Linked DNA regions of Homo sapiens: regions 1, 3, 4 and 5 are each linked to region 2. The links are contacts of gene promoters, found by promoter capture Hi-C in blood cells and fetal thymus (Javierre and others, 2016). All regions are on one chromosome and are shown on one strand. Each heading gives the region's core, a stretch centred on a gene start or on the middle of the fragment in contact. The rest is flanking DNA. Distances are from core to core; before and after follow the strand shown.

What was found. The method cuts DNA at HindIII sites, captures the fragments that hold promoters and counts their contacts. A CHiCAGO score of 5 or more calls a contact.
Region 1: a contact is called between a fragment that was not itself captured here and the fragment with the promoter of H3C8 in region 2, in 1 of 17 cell types (non-activated CD4 T cells). The highest score is 5.1, in non-activated CD4 T cells.
Region 3: a fragment that was not itself captured here is called in contact with the fragment with the promoter of H3C8 in region 2 in 1 of 17 cell types (M0 macrophages); the score reaches 6.4 in M0 macrophages.
Region 4: a contact is called between a fragment that was not itself captured here and the fragment with the promoter of H3C8 in region 2, in 1 of 17 cell types (non-activated CD4 T cells). The highest score is 5.4, in non-activated CD4 T cells.
Region 5: a fragment that was not itself captured here is called in contact with the fragment with the promoter of H3C8 in region 2 in 1 of 17 cell types (naive B cells); the score reaches 5.1 in naive B cells.

What each region holds. Positions count from the first base shown.
Region 1 is chr6:27,693,904-27,696,603 of GRCh38, reverse strand. LINC01012 (long intergenic non-protein coding RNA 1012) reads right to left here and starts at 2,569. Exons shown (of 4, transcript NR_038294.1): 1 at 2,098-2,569. The HindIII fragment of the contact is 2,198 bases long and covers 328-2,525 here.
Region 2 is chr6:26,269,967-26,272,666 of GRCh38, reverse strand. It overlaps H3C8 (H3 clustered histone 8), which reads left to right and starts at 1,254. Exons shown (of 1, transcript NM_003534.3): 1 at 1,254-1,749. The coding sequence starts at 1,283. The coding sequence ends at 1,693. It also overlaps the pseudogene H2AC10P. RefSeq lists enhancers at 146-485, 2,213-2,352. The HindIII fragment of the contact is 12,049 bases long and covers 1-1,853 here.
Region 3 is chr6:27,780,675-27,783,374 of GRCh38, reverse strand. It overlaps the pseudogene RSL24D1P1. Among named protein-coding and RNA genes, the nearest start is that of TRQ-CTG6-1, 9.4 kb to the left of the region's middle. The HindIII fragment of the contact is 1,458 bases long and covers 649-2,106 here.
Region 4 is chr6:27,764,085-27,766,784 of GRCh38, reverse strand. No RefSeq gene overlaps it. Among named protein-coding and RNA genes, the nearest start is that of TRV-AAC1-5, 12 kb to the right of the region's middle. The HindIII fragment of the contact is 1,157 bases long and covers 682-1,838 here.
Region 5 is chr6:27,498,476-27,501,175 of GRCh38, reverse strand. No RefSeq gene overlaps it. Among named protein-coding and RNA genes, the nearest start is that of TRS-AGA2-4, 3.2 kb to the left of the region's middle. The HindIII fragment of the contact is 178 bases long and covers 1,223-1,400 here.

The DNA of each region.
Region 1 (2,700 bases), core at 177-2,676, 1.4 Mb before region 2:
ATAATGGTAAAGTCTTCCGCATTCATCCTATTTAAAACTCAACACCCATTCCTCACTCTACCCTACTCCATATTGCCCTTCTCTGATTTCTTTTTCTCCACAATACCATCACCTGAGAAACTGTATTTTCCTCTAGAATAAACTCCACAAATATGGAGATGCTTGTCTTAAATGAATAAAGCCATGTCTATTCAAAACCAATTAGTCAAAATTAGTATCATATTCTTGGTTACTATTTTTTCATAAACTGTCAATTTGGTGTAACCTGGTTCTCATATCCCATTCCCCTTTTCTAGACATTCCTTTAATCAACATACTACTGAAGCTTTCCTTTTCTTTGTAATAATTTTAAAAACCCAGGTCTTTGTGATTGCAATGCTTGCTAGAGGCATCATGCAGGAAATGGCAGAAAACGGGTCCTCTTATATGCTGAACCAATAGTTCATGGAATGGTTGTGGGGGGGTCACAGATCTTGTAATCTGAAGTGCCCCATTGACTAAAAAGTAAAAAACACATGGCTGGGCGCGGTAGCTCACACCTGTAATCCCAGCACTTTGGAAGGCCGAGGTGGATGGATCACCTGAGGTCAAGAGTTCGAGACCAGTATGGCCAACATGGTGAAACCCCGTCTCTACTTAAAATACAAAAAATTAGCTGGGCGTGGTGGTACACACCTGTAATCCCAGTTACTCAGGAGGCTGAGGCAGGAGAATCGCTTGAACCTGGGAGGCAGAGGTTACGGTGAGCCAAGATCGCGCCATTGTACTCCAGATTGGGAGACAAGAGCGAGACTTCATCTCAAAAAAAAAAAAAAAAAAAAAAAGTATAAAACACAGGCTTTTATGTTATACAGACATGAATGAAAATCCTTGGTTCTGTCACTTACTAGTTGTGGGATGTTGGACTTATTACCAGGTTAAATCCTCTAAGCCTCAGCTTTACTGTGGTTAAATGGATATAAAAATATCCAATCTCTCTAACAGAGTTGTGAGGATTAAATAACAAAATTTGTAAACCTATTTAATAGTACTGGGCATACAACTCCTCAATAAATGTTATTACAATCACTGCGACAGAACAAAGATCACTGGAGGAATATTTCCAAATCGTTAGAGGTTTTAAGATCATCACAACTGTAATCCCAGCACTATGGGAAGCCGAGATGTGTGGATCACTTGAGGTCAGGAGTTCGAGACCAGCCTGGCCAACATGGGGAAACCTCGGCTCTACTAAGTAGCTGGGCGTTGTGGCACACACCTGAAATCCTAACTACTTGGGAGGCTGAGGCAGGAGAATCGCTTGAACCCGGGAAGCAGAGGATGCAGTGAGCCAAGTTGGCACCACTTCACTCCAGCCTGAGTGACAGAGCTAGACACCATCTCAAAAAAGGAGCACCACTGAACTTTGTAACATTAACTGACAGAAAAGACACTAGACACTAGAATTCTATGAGCCCCCAGCAGTGTCAGAAAATCCTCTTACATGTATTTTGTTTTTTGTTGAAGAAAAAAAACTTAAACAGAGAAATATTGCTAGATTTCTTAGATTAGATAAGGATAAAATGAGAACTATCTTATTCTACTCGTTCCTTGTATTATTCAAGATTCAGTACCCTGCTGGTAAGTTTCATTCAGCGAATCCAGCACACATGAATTAAATGCTAGTTAAGGTACAATGTCTCCAACAGGCACGATGTCAGAATAATGGTTTCTGTCCATCAGAACAAAGGATGAGATGCGCCTCTTGGATTTGACTGTAGCCCAATGGTCATCATCGCTGGCTGCACATTAACATTATCCAGGAAATTTTAAAGCTCTATAGGTGATTCTAAGGAAGAGGAGGACTGAGAGGCCGACTGTTAAGATGCACTGCTACTGTCCGATGAGCACACACTCATCCATAACGTTACACATTTCCTATTCACCTGATGCCCAGAATCATCAAACAGTGTATTCAACACAGTCACGCCATTTCTGTTTTCCAGGTGACTATCCTCCACAAGATACTGTTATCCAGAGCAGGTAAACTCCCTAGCATCTGTCGCTCAAGAACTTAAATCCCTCCCTGCACCCAACCCATCAACAGTGACTTATTACCATCCACAAGCCAGGCTGCTTCCCGATGCACCTTTTCTCCTGGGGAGTGCCCAGACGAGCGCCATCTGCTCCTGGGTCAGAGGAGTCCCTGCAGAGTCATCGACTTCCTCATTTCCAAAAGCCCCATAGGTTGCACTGGAGTCCCGAGGCGAAGCGCCGACACTTCATCTGCCCGTCACCTCCCGATTTTTGCAATGTGTTTCTTCTGAACAAGAATGTGTGCCCTGGAAGCCAACTCAAGTCCCAGACCTAGGTTTCTCGACATTTCCCCAAGTCCCACCTGCGTCAGGTTGTAGGCTCCGGGGCCAGTCCCTTTCGATCCGCATCAAAAAACCTGGCGATCCCCTTTGGGCACAAGAGCTCAGGGCGTTGGTCCCCGCGATCGCGGAAGCCCACTTCCAGAAAAACTCGACCACTAACAGTAAGCTTCAGGGGTAGCAAAAAGGGGCAGAAGGGTTTGCATCCCCTGGCGTCATTTCCGGGTCCGCTCTGGAAACCTCGGAGGTTTCCGTGTCTCTGTCGTTTATTCCAACTGTTAATGCTCCATGTGCCTTTGACTCTCCTCACCTTCCCTTCTAAACACACGGGGAAGAAAGGTTCAGG
Region 2 (2,700 bases), core at 5-2,504:
AGGAGATAGCACAGTCTACTTTGCCGAATATAGATTATAAGAGTTTAGCTCTTGCGTTTTACTAGAATCAATCACTTTCCTTCTTCTAAACAAGTATTTAAATACTTCACTGCGTCTGGATGTGGAATGCAGGGCAGCAAAGCTCGCGCCAAGGCTAAAACGCACTCTTCCAGGGCTGGTCTCCAGTTTTCTGTGGGCCGAGTGCACCGCCTCCTCCGCAAGGGCAACTACGCCAAGCGGGTCCGGGCCGGTGCGCCGGTGTACCTGGAGGCGGTGCTGGAGTACCTGACCGCCAAGATCCTGGAGTTGGCGGGCAACGCGGCCCGAGACAAGAAGACCCGCGTCACCCCCCGACGCCTGCAGCTCGCCATCCACGACGAGAAGCTCAACAAGCTGTTGGGCAAAGTTACTATCGCGCAGGGCGGTGTCCTGCCCAATATTCAGGCCGTGCTGTTGCCCTGTCTATACAAGTGACTGACTAGGCAAACAGGACTAATGAGAAAATGTTTAATATCTCAAGTAAGTGCTTTAATGTAGTCGGGAAGAAGCAAGTTCAGTAACGTTTACAAAACCTTGTAAAGTTTAGATGGACAGGGCCACTGCAGTGTTCAAGTTATCCTGCAGAAGAGGCTAGTGGGGGTGGTATCCTGGAATATCATCAATAGGACCCAACGAAAAGTAAATGATAAGAGTCGTTGGAAAACCTAAAATTAGCCTGTGCCTTAAAAATTCTCAACCGAAGCAAAACACCATTTGGGACAAAATAGAATTCAGTTAACATTTGTTGCTCACTGTTGTATGTCGGTGACTTCTTGGCTCGTGATTTCCCAGGTACATCACCCAGGAATCCTGCCTTATAATGGTCAAAGGTTTCCAGCTAGCAGCAGTCCAGGTGACTCAAGAAAACGGCACAAGATAAACTTCTCAAAACGTGGTCCTCCGAATCTGGCCCCACAACACATCTACTGAATGAGAATTAGCGTCTTCCAAGTCTTAAAGTAGTCGTTTACGGACTACAGCTTGAGAAGCGCAGAATTAGAACTTTAAGAAGTTAACGTTCTTGGATCGCAGACTAACCGAGAAGAGAGGATTCAAAAATGAAGTGATTCATCCAATCAGATTTTCCAGTAATTCACCAATCACATCGTTGGACTCTTCAGCCAATGGTTTTGTTGCGCGGGTCTTTTGAAAATCAACAAGGCCAATTAGAATGTTTCTGAGTATATATAAGGGCAGTTTCCACTCTGCCAAGTGGCTGAGTTTTTCTTTCAGGTAGTCTGAGATGGCCCGCACCAAGCAGACTGCACGCAAGTCCACCGGTGGCAAAGCGCCGCGCAAGCAGCTGGCCACTAAGGCGGCTCGGAAAAGCGCGCCGGCCACCGGCGGCGTGAAGAAACCTCATCGCTACCGTCCCGGCACCGTGGCTCTGCGCGAGATTCGCCGCTATCAGAAGTCGACTGAGCTGCTGATCCGCAAGTTGCCTTTCCAACGCCTGGTGCGAGAAATCGCTCAGGACTTCAAGACAGATCTGCGCTTTCAGAGTTCCGCGGTGATGGCCCTGCAGGAGGCCTGCGAGGCCTACTTGGTGGGGCTCTTTGAGGATACCAACCTGTGTGCCATCCATGCTAAGCGAGTGACTATCATGCCCAAGGACATTCAGCTCGCTCGCCGCATTCGTGGGGAGAGAGCGTAGAGGTTTCCGGGCAGTAATTCTATCCAACTTAAAAAGGCTCTTTTAAGAGCCGCCTACTTTCACCCGAAAATAGCTGTGATTAACTAATCAAATCTTTGAAACTAAACATTGGTTTTAGTACTTAAGTCCTCATTTGATTGGCTAAAGTTAATGGTAAGCTTGCTATATTTGTTCCCGTGCTTTTTCCCGAAAGTGCCAGATTGTCAGCGTCCTTTTCTAAACTGGCTTTTAGGGGTTTGGAGCTTCGATTTGGTAGTGGAAGGGGCCACCTGGGGGCGTTTATATACATTGTCTCAAGCGTTAGTCGCGTTGTCTACTTACACCCATTATAGATGGGATTTTTTTTCGTTGTGTATTTCTGGTTAATCCCTTTTAAAACTTTACAGGTATGAGCATTGGCAGTTGAGAGTAGGTAGGGATATCCTTGGTTGCTGCTTTTTCGTGTCTGAAGCAGCTATTTCCACAATTCCCCCTTTTTTTAAACAGTTCTTGGTTTTTCTGTGAAATGATCCATTTTTTAATTCAATATTAGAAATTGGCGGCAGAAACGAAAGCCAGATTGGCCTCTACATTACTGGCAGCATGGGCATTACGTGGGAACTTGTTAGAAGCTCCCAGGGCATTACATGGGAGCTTGTTTCAATCCCCATCTAGGGCTGGAGTCAATCTGCATATACCTCAGATGATTCTCATGAACACTGATTTAGGAAGCCTAGGTTGTTGGTTTTGGTCTCATCAGTAAAGGCATCCTGCCTGTGAACTCTTACAAGGAGTGAGCTTTTGCAAAATGCATGTTTATTTATGTTACAGAATGAAATATTCTATGAAATGTTCTCTAAAGCAAGTGCACAGAACAATCCCCTAAAATAGTTTGATTTCTTTACAGATCAGTTTTCTCAATGTAACATTACAGTCACATGGGAAGGCTTTAGAAAAATCTTTACCTGGGGTTCAATGAGACTAATAGCAATCTAGAGTGGGCCCAGGGAATGGTAATTATTAAAATT
Region 3 (2,700 bases), core at 128-2,627, 1.5 Mb before region 2:
GGCCTCCCATATCCCTTGCACTCCATTTCCCCCAAGTCTCTTACCACCAACACCATTTTAGGTAACTGTTAACGGTGGAGGGTGTGCAGGTTCTGGCGTCTTAAACGAAGAATTGGACAAAACTCACAAACAAAGCAATGAAGGAATTAAGGGTTTTATTGAAAATGAAAGTACACTCCACAGTGTGGGAGTGGACCTGAACCTAGGGGCTCAAAGGCCCCGTTACAGAATTTTCAGGAGTTTAACCCCTAGAGAATTCTTATTTGTTACTTCGGAAGCCCTATATAAACAGACAGGATGAGGTAAAGTTACAAAGTCATTTACAGCATATGCCCTATGGAGAGGATATTTCCTTTTATAGCTGAAGTATGAATTGGCCTTATGTTCCCTGCCTCCAGACCTTATTTTCCTGTCTCATTTCCTCCCTGAGAGATGTGATCCCCATAAATCTTTATGGGAGGCAGAGGGACTGATGGTCTTTTTTCTGTAACTGCTTCATGCTACCTTGGGGCGTAGTCCCTACCTATTGTGGATCATGGAACTCTCTCCCTGTTCTGTCTAGTGAAGGCAAGGTAGCTTCTTGATGGCCAGGGGTGGTGTCTTCACATGGAGGTGGCTGGAACCTTTGTTTCATGATCATCTGAAGCTTGATGATTTCTAAGCAAGAGGAAATGAATTTGGTTAAAAGATTTAATGGGAACTTCGGGGGTGGATACCTATGCTCTCAGAAATGTTTGTTATAGAGGTTTGCAGGAGAAAAAACAAAACCTGGTTTGTTCTAGAAATCTATGTGTTTCCTTAAAGTCTTAGCAGAAGTGACTCCCTTTTGGTTTGGTTTGGTTTGTTGGGGCCTAGTGCATAAGCCTAGTCCGAAACAATGGCCTTCCAGAATTTTGTTAAAAAAATTTCCCCTTTTTGGTCAGGTTCTCAGGTGAGAGTGTAACCAAAACTTAGGGCCTTAGTGCTGCTCTCAGTTACCATCATTTTGGGCTTCTGGTCTCAGCACATCATTCATAGGTTAAGGGGTCCTCATGGTTGCACATTTCCTTCAGCTCTTGTTATTCCAGCTGAAGAAAGACCATTTGACATTCTGGAGATGGCTACATGCAAGCATTTAAAACCTTCGAGGGAATGCAGTGCACCAGGGAGACTATTATTATGACTATTGGGAGGATGATACCAAGAGTTTGGAGTGTGCTCCTTACCCAAGGTCCCCATAAACCAAACCTCTTAAAATCAAATAGATCAAAGGATCAGCTAGATAAAGAATTTACTCACTTGACTTAGCAATTTCTTTGTCAATCCTCTACCACTGAATTTCTGTAATCTTCATTTGACGTATTTTTCCATAGGCCACAAGTGCCAGCAGCTGCACAGATACTTCTCTGTTTAGCCAATTCTATCATAACTTTCACAAGGTAATTTAGAGTCTATTGTGTAACTATAGCCTTTACAGTAGAATTTGCTATAGAACCTATTGTGAGGGATATATTTCTAATCATTGCTTCTTTTTCTTTAAACCATGGAAAAAGGACCTAACAAATGATGCCTTTTTAGAAGAGTGAAGGCCTTCTGGCAATGTTCTCTTTAACCCATGATGTGGGTTAAGAGGAGTGAACCAATGTTTTGTTTTTGATTATGAGGCAAAGCATGTACCTTTAAAGTTTCTTACCTACATTGGGCCTTCATCTTTTATCTATCAAAGTATAAGTTTACCCATTTAAAAAGCTGGTTACAAACTCCTTCGCAAGTAAGAGTATACACCATAAGTGCACATAACAGACACCTTTTCCACTTCTATTTTTTTGTAGAGGCATAAGCAACAAAAAATATTCGAAGATAAGTTTCACGACAGTAGAAGTCTTAATCTGTGAACGTGAGAAAAGCTGTTCATAGTAAGGATGCCATTCTCCTCTTGGGAGAAATTTCTTTGGTTAATTTTACCTTAAGGGTTCCAGTGGGCACACAGCTCCAAGAGCTTGGAGGGACCCTTCTCAGTTGTGAGATTATGAACTCAAAGTTCAAGATCCCAAAGTTTTGTTGTAGTGTGAATGGCAAGAACAGTCTTTCTCTGATGCTTCTAGAAGATTCAAATCATAAAAAGCTTTCTTTGCCTGTTGAAAATACACTGTAGTAATCTACTGTTATAACATCAGCCCTCTTGCATAGGAAACCTTTTATACAACCAGAAAACATGCACTGAAAATAACAAATGAGCTCTCAAGCTTGGTGTTTGCTTGGTGGGGACCCACGTGGGTTCAACATGTGTATTGAGAAGTGTTATTTCTGTTCAGGGCCCATCTACCCTGGTCACGGCATGATGTTCGTCCACAACAATTGCAAGTTGTTCAGATTTTGTAAATCTAAATGTCATAAAAACTTTTAAAAGAAGTGCAGTCCTCGCAAAGCTAGGTGGATCAAAGCATTCCAGAATGCAGCTGGTAAAGAGCTTACAGTGGATAATTCATTTGAATTTGAAAAACGTAGAAATGAACCTATCAAATACCAGCGAGAGCTATGGAATAAAACTATTGATGCAATGAAGCAAATTGAAGAAATCAAACAGAAATGCCAAGCTAAATTTATAATGAACAGACTGAATAAAAATAAAGAGCTACAGAAAGTTCAGGATATCAAAGAAGTCAAGCAAAACATCCATCTTATTCAAGCCCCTCTTGCAGGCAAAGAGAAGCAGCTGGA
Region 4 (2,700 bases), core at 11-2,510, 1.5 Mb before region 2:
GGTCAGAGGGCCAGGCTGAGGCCAGTGGAGACCTTGGTTCCACACCTGTTTCAGTTTAAAAAGGTGTGGGTACAGAGAACTTGTGTTAGGGCCAGGGAAGATGACTCTCCCAGAGAGGCTAAAGGGGGTGCCAATGTTTCCACTTGTCTATAGACTTCCCTTTCCCAGTACTCCTCCTGCATGGTTGGCACCTGTTGATTCTGTGAACTGCAAGGGCCTCCCTCTGATTGGTTCTGATAGCATGTATCAGATGGGGGGAGGCCATCAATCTCTTATTTAGGAACCCCCTGCTGCGTCAGTCAGATCCACAGTCTGTGGAGTGGGGGCACTTGGAGGCTGCCCCACTACCAGCCCTTGGATTGCCCCCTCCCAAGTTAGCCTTTTGTATTTAATTGTCAGATTAAATTTGTCAAATTTGACCCCCATTCTGCTGCCAGGCTAGCAGAGTACGATACAGCTTTTCGATGGCCTTGCCAAAGGCTATTCCAAGGGGAAGAAATAAAATCAATTGATTATGCCAGGGCCAAGGGCCCTGCTCTATGAAGTCATCAATATTGCATCTAAACAGTATTGTATCATCCAATTCCCCCTTCTGGAGGTTGGATAGCCATGAGCCCGGGGCCACCCTGCACAAGGCTGTGCCAGCCTCATGTCCTGACTGCCAAGGGCACAATGGAAGCTTAGGCAAACCACCCTGGATGGGAAAAGAGCCTAGAATGCTAGACACCAACCAAATAAGTAAAGATTCCAGCTTGTGGGCGTGGTGATCTACACCTGTAGCTTGTTGGATCACCCTGAACATCTGCTGCAACACTGGGTTGTGAGCCAATCTACCCAGGCTGTGCCATTCTTTTCATGACAGCAGAATGTTCTGTCACTCCTCATCAACTACCTGAGATAGCCAAGAAAACATGTCTTCTCTTGGTTTTTGCCCATAGCTGTCCTTGAGATCACTAATTTGTCTTTCTGTGAAGGAGAGCATTTTGATGGTTTCTTGCTGAGCTACCCCAACATTCTTGCACTGCTGGGTAAAGACGGGCTGCATCATGCACATTTATTCCTTCTTAAGTGCCTCAGAGACTTTTCTTATAACCTCTTGGGTGTCTTAGCGTCTGAGTGTCCATTTCCCAAGATCTCCATCCTGGGGAATGAGCAATCACATATGTGTCCCAAAGCTAGGGGACAGAGTTTCACACTCCTCTGTTTCCACATTCCTTTCTCTCTGCCTCAATCCATGCAGCCAGCTCATTCACATCTGTGGGGAGGTGACATATGTCCCACTTATCATTCCTCCTTCCCCATAAAACATCCTGCAGCATGTCTGGCTCCTGCACCCCCAGACTGACCTCTCTTCCCTGGACTGGGTACTGAAGGACATTGCCCCTCCCTCTTAGCCCATAAGTCATGGTTCTGTCAGACCAGACTGTGCTGCTATACCAATTTTATGAAGCAGGATCACTAATTACCAATCCCAAAGGAGAACTCTCACTGAGGGAAGAATAGCAAAAATCATTACTATGCTAACCACCAGGAATCAGAACATTTCCACCCACAGCATCCTGGGCTGCAGTTTTACTATTTGCCTCAGTCAGATGAGACAGAATACATTCACATGCCACAAGTTATATGAATCAGGTTTATTGTTCACAGATAGGCAGTAAGAGACAACAGAAGCCTAAGATGCACAGCAAGCCAGTCCCCCAAGGTTCAAGAAAACTGTCAGGGTGGATGGAGTCTCCACTGCATGGTCCTCATTTGTACCACAGCTAAGGGACCCTGAAAGGTAACCCACCCTGGGTTATATACCTCAGGGGCAACAGGATATGCTGGGCAAAGCTTTGAAGGACATCTTTTTAGGGAAGGCAATCCAGGGCCCTATCTCAGCTTCTGTCCCCTTGGTCTCCAATGCCAGGAGTGAGGACGCAGAAGGGACTCCATGGGGAAGGAGAGATTGGGGAGGCAATTTCTCCTCTCCCCACCCTCTTTCTCACCCCTTGTACATTAAACTGCTCTTTGCCCCCATGCTGGGGGGCACTTGGAGGCATTCTCCGGGAAAGAGTTTTTAGCTTGAACTTTAAAGACCTGAGTGGATCAGAAAGAAGGACCCTGTACTTCTGTCCTTAATCAGATGAGGGCCAGGCAAGTGAGAACCTTATATTCAGGCATGGCCTGGAGGACCGAACCCACGGAATGATAATGGCGCAAAGTACCACGAAATAGCGTAGGAAAAGTCTCTCTGACTGCACCCTGGGGTTTCATTTCTGCAAACAGATGACTGGGCCCCTGTTCATCCCCAACCTCACTGGGAGATTAGGCCTAAGAGGAGGGTATAACACCACTTGCACATGTCCTTGTTGACAGCTCTCACATACTGGAGCAGCTGCGAGTCAATGGGTGTCTGATTTCTGAATATGATTTATCCAAATTCACTCACATTTCAGATGTGGATTTATTTTCCAAGGGAATGTTGAGATTGCCACCATTAAAGGAAACTCAGTTACTTGCCTAAAGTGACAAAGACCTTCTTGACCCAACTCTAGTCAGCCTCCTTTATAAGTACTGAAAGCCCAGACCTTGGGTTTTTTCTTTGGTTCACTTATTCTAGTTTTAGCAAGAATCCTGCTAAGTTTAATGAAAATTCTCCACCCTTGGTCTGATCACCCTCGATATTTTACCAAATTCCTTATGTCTCACCTTGAT
Region 5 (2,700 bases), core at 62-2,561, 1.2 Mb before region 2:
AGTGTTCTCTACTTTTCCAGTTTCTGGAAAAGTTTATGTACACATGATATTATTTCCTCTTTAAAGGTTTGGTAGACTCCACCAATGAAGCCATCTAGGCCTGGATTTTTCTTTTAGAGAGGTTTTTAATTATAAATTATATTTTTAACAGTTATATTACAATTCAGATTATTTCTTGAGTGGGTTTTAGTAGTTTCTACCTTTTGAGAAATTGATATATTTCATCTAATTTGTCAAATTAATTGGCATATTATCCAAAATATTCTTTTATTTTTTGTATAATCTAGGTAAATGTCCCCTGTTTCTTTCCTGCTACATTTATTTTCTGAGCAGTCCGACTGGAGATTTATCAATATTATTCATCTTTTCAAAGCACTGGTTTTTAGATTTCATTGATCTTCTCTATTGTTTTTCTATTTCATTCTCTTTTGCTCTTTAATATTTGTTCTCTTCCACTTACTTTGAATTTAATTTACTCTTATTTTTCTCGTTTGTTAAGGTGAAACTATAGATGATTGATTGACACTTTTTTTTTTTTTAAGGGTCTGGCTCTGTCACCCAGGCTGGGGAGCAGCTGGGGTGTAGTGGCACGATTTCTGCTTGCTGCAGCCTCCACTTCTCCAGCTCAAGCATTCTTCCCACCTCAGCCTCCTGAGTAGCTGGGACTGCAGTCACCCGCCAGCCACCAACCTGGCTTGTCCCTCCCTCCCTCTCTTCCTTCCTTCCTCTCTCCCTTTCTCTCTCTCTTTCTCTCTCTCTCTCCCTCCCTCCCTTCCTTCCCTCCCTCTGACCTTTCTTTCTCTCTCTCCCTCCCTTCCTTCCCTCCCTCCGACCTTTCTTTCTCTCTCTCTCCCTCCCTCCCTTCTTTCCATCCCTCCTTCCCTCCTTCTCTTTTCTTTTCTTCCTTTCTTTCCTTCCTTCCTTCTCTCTCCTTCCTTCCCTTCCTTCCTTCCTTTCCTTCTTTCTCTTTCTTTCTCTTTCTTTCTTTCTTTCTCTCTCTCTCTCTCTTTCTTTCTTTCTTTCCTGTTTTCCTGTTCTTCTGGTAGAGATGGGGTCTCACCATGCTGCCCAGGCTGGTCTCAAATCCCTGGGCTCAAGCACTCCTCCTGCCTCAGCCCCTCAAAGTGCTGGGATTACAAGCATGAGCCACAGCACCTGACCACTTTTTTCATAATAAGCTTTTTTTCTTTTTTCTATAAAAGCTTTTTTCCTATGAAAAGCTTTAGCTGCATTTTGTTATATTTTGTTACCATTTTTATTTAGTTCAAAATAATTTAAATTTCCCTTGTGATATATTATTTGGTTTTAGATTATTTTGTTTAATTTCTGTTAATTGATTTCTGGTTTAATTCTGTTGTGGTCACAAAATATACTTTCTGTAATTTCAGTCCTTTTAAGCTTACTGTGACTTATTTTTTAGTCCAAAATAAGGTCTGTCTTGGTAAGTATTCTATGAGCGCTTGAAAAGAAAGTTTTCTGTTATTGCTGAGAAAAGCGTTATATAAATGTTAATGAGGTCAAATTTGTGGTAATGTGGTTCAAATCTTCTGTATTCGTACTGAATTTTCAGACTACTTGTTCTATCAATTACTGAGAAAGAAGTGTTAAAATTTCCAACTATTAGCCTGGCTCAGTGGCTCACGCCTGTAATCCCAGCACTTTGGGAGGCCAAGGGGGGTGGATCACCTGAGGTCAGGAATTTGAGACCAGCCTGACCAACATAGTGAAATCCCGTCTCTACTAAAAATACAAAAATTAGCTGGGTGTGGTGGTGGGCACCTGTAATCCCAGCTACTCAGGAGGCTGAGGCAGGAGAATCACTTGAACCCGGGAGGCGGAGGTTGCAGTGAGCCGAGATGGCACCACTGTGCTCCAGCCAGGGTACAGAGCAAGACTGTCTCAAAAAATAAATAAATAAATAAATAAATAATAAAAAATATAATTTCCAACTATATTTGAGTAATTTTTCTATTTCTCCTTGCAGTTTAGTAGGTTTTGCTACACATATTTTGAAGCACTATTTGTAGGTGCATACATGTAGGGTTGTTGTGGCGGCTTCTTGGTGCATTGACCTCTTTATCATTATTAAATGTTCCTCTTAATCTGATTATAGGCAGTAAATAGGGCAATTTCTTTCTCATTTTTTCCCTTTTCCCAGGTATCAAAATTAGTCACTGCCTATTGTCTATCTGAAGAAAATTGTTATATATACTTTGTACAGTTTTCCAGTTGTTTAAGGTGGTAGGGTAAGTCTGGTTTCTATTACTTTACCATGGGGAAGAAACAGGAGTCCTTTTGGCACTGGTCTTAAAATGACCAATTTCACTTTAATCCTGGTGGGATATCATCCTTTCCTTTGAGTTGTGTTTACTGATCCTCTTCCTCCATGATCCTTTTCTTGACTATACACTTTACTGCACCTAATTTTATTCATAATTAACATTGTGAGAGTCAACAATTGCAACAGGTCCATGAAAAATAATTGGTTATTAGTTACATGGATATCTTCTTTTATAAAATGTTTATTCAAGTTTTTGATCATTTAGTTGAGTCATTGATATGTAGCAGTCAAGATTCAATAAAAGAAGCAGAACCACTGGGATGCACTTCAAGCTTCAGCGTTATAAAGACTGTGGGGCAGGTTATCAAGAAAGGAAGAAAGAGGTAAAGTGGGGAATATTAGAACAAGCTGGAACCCAC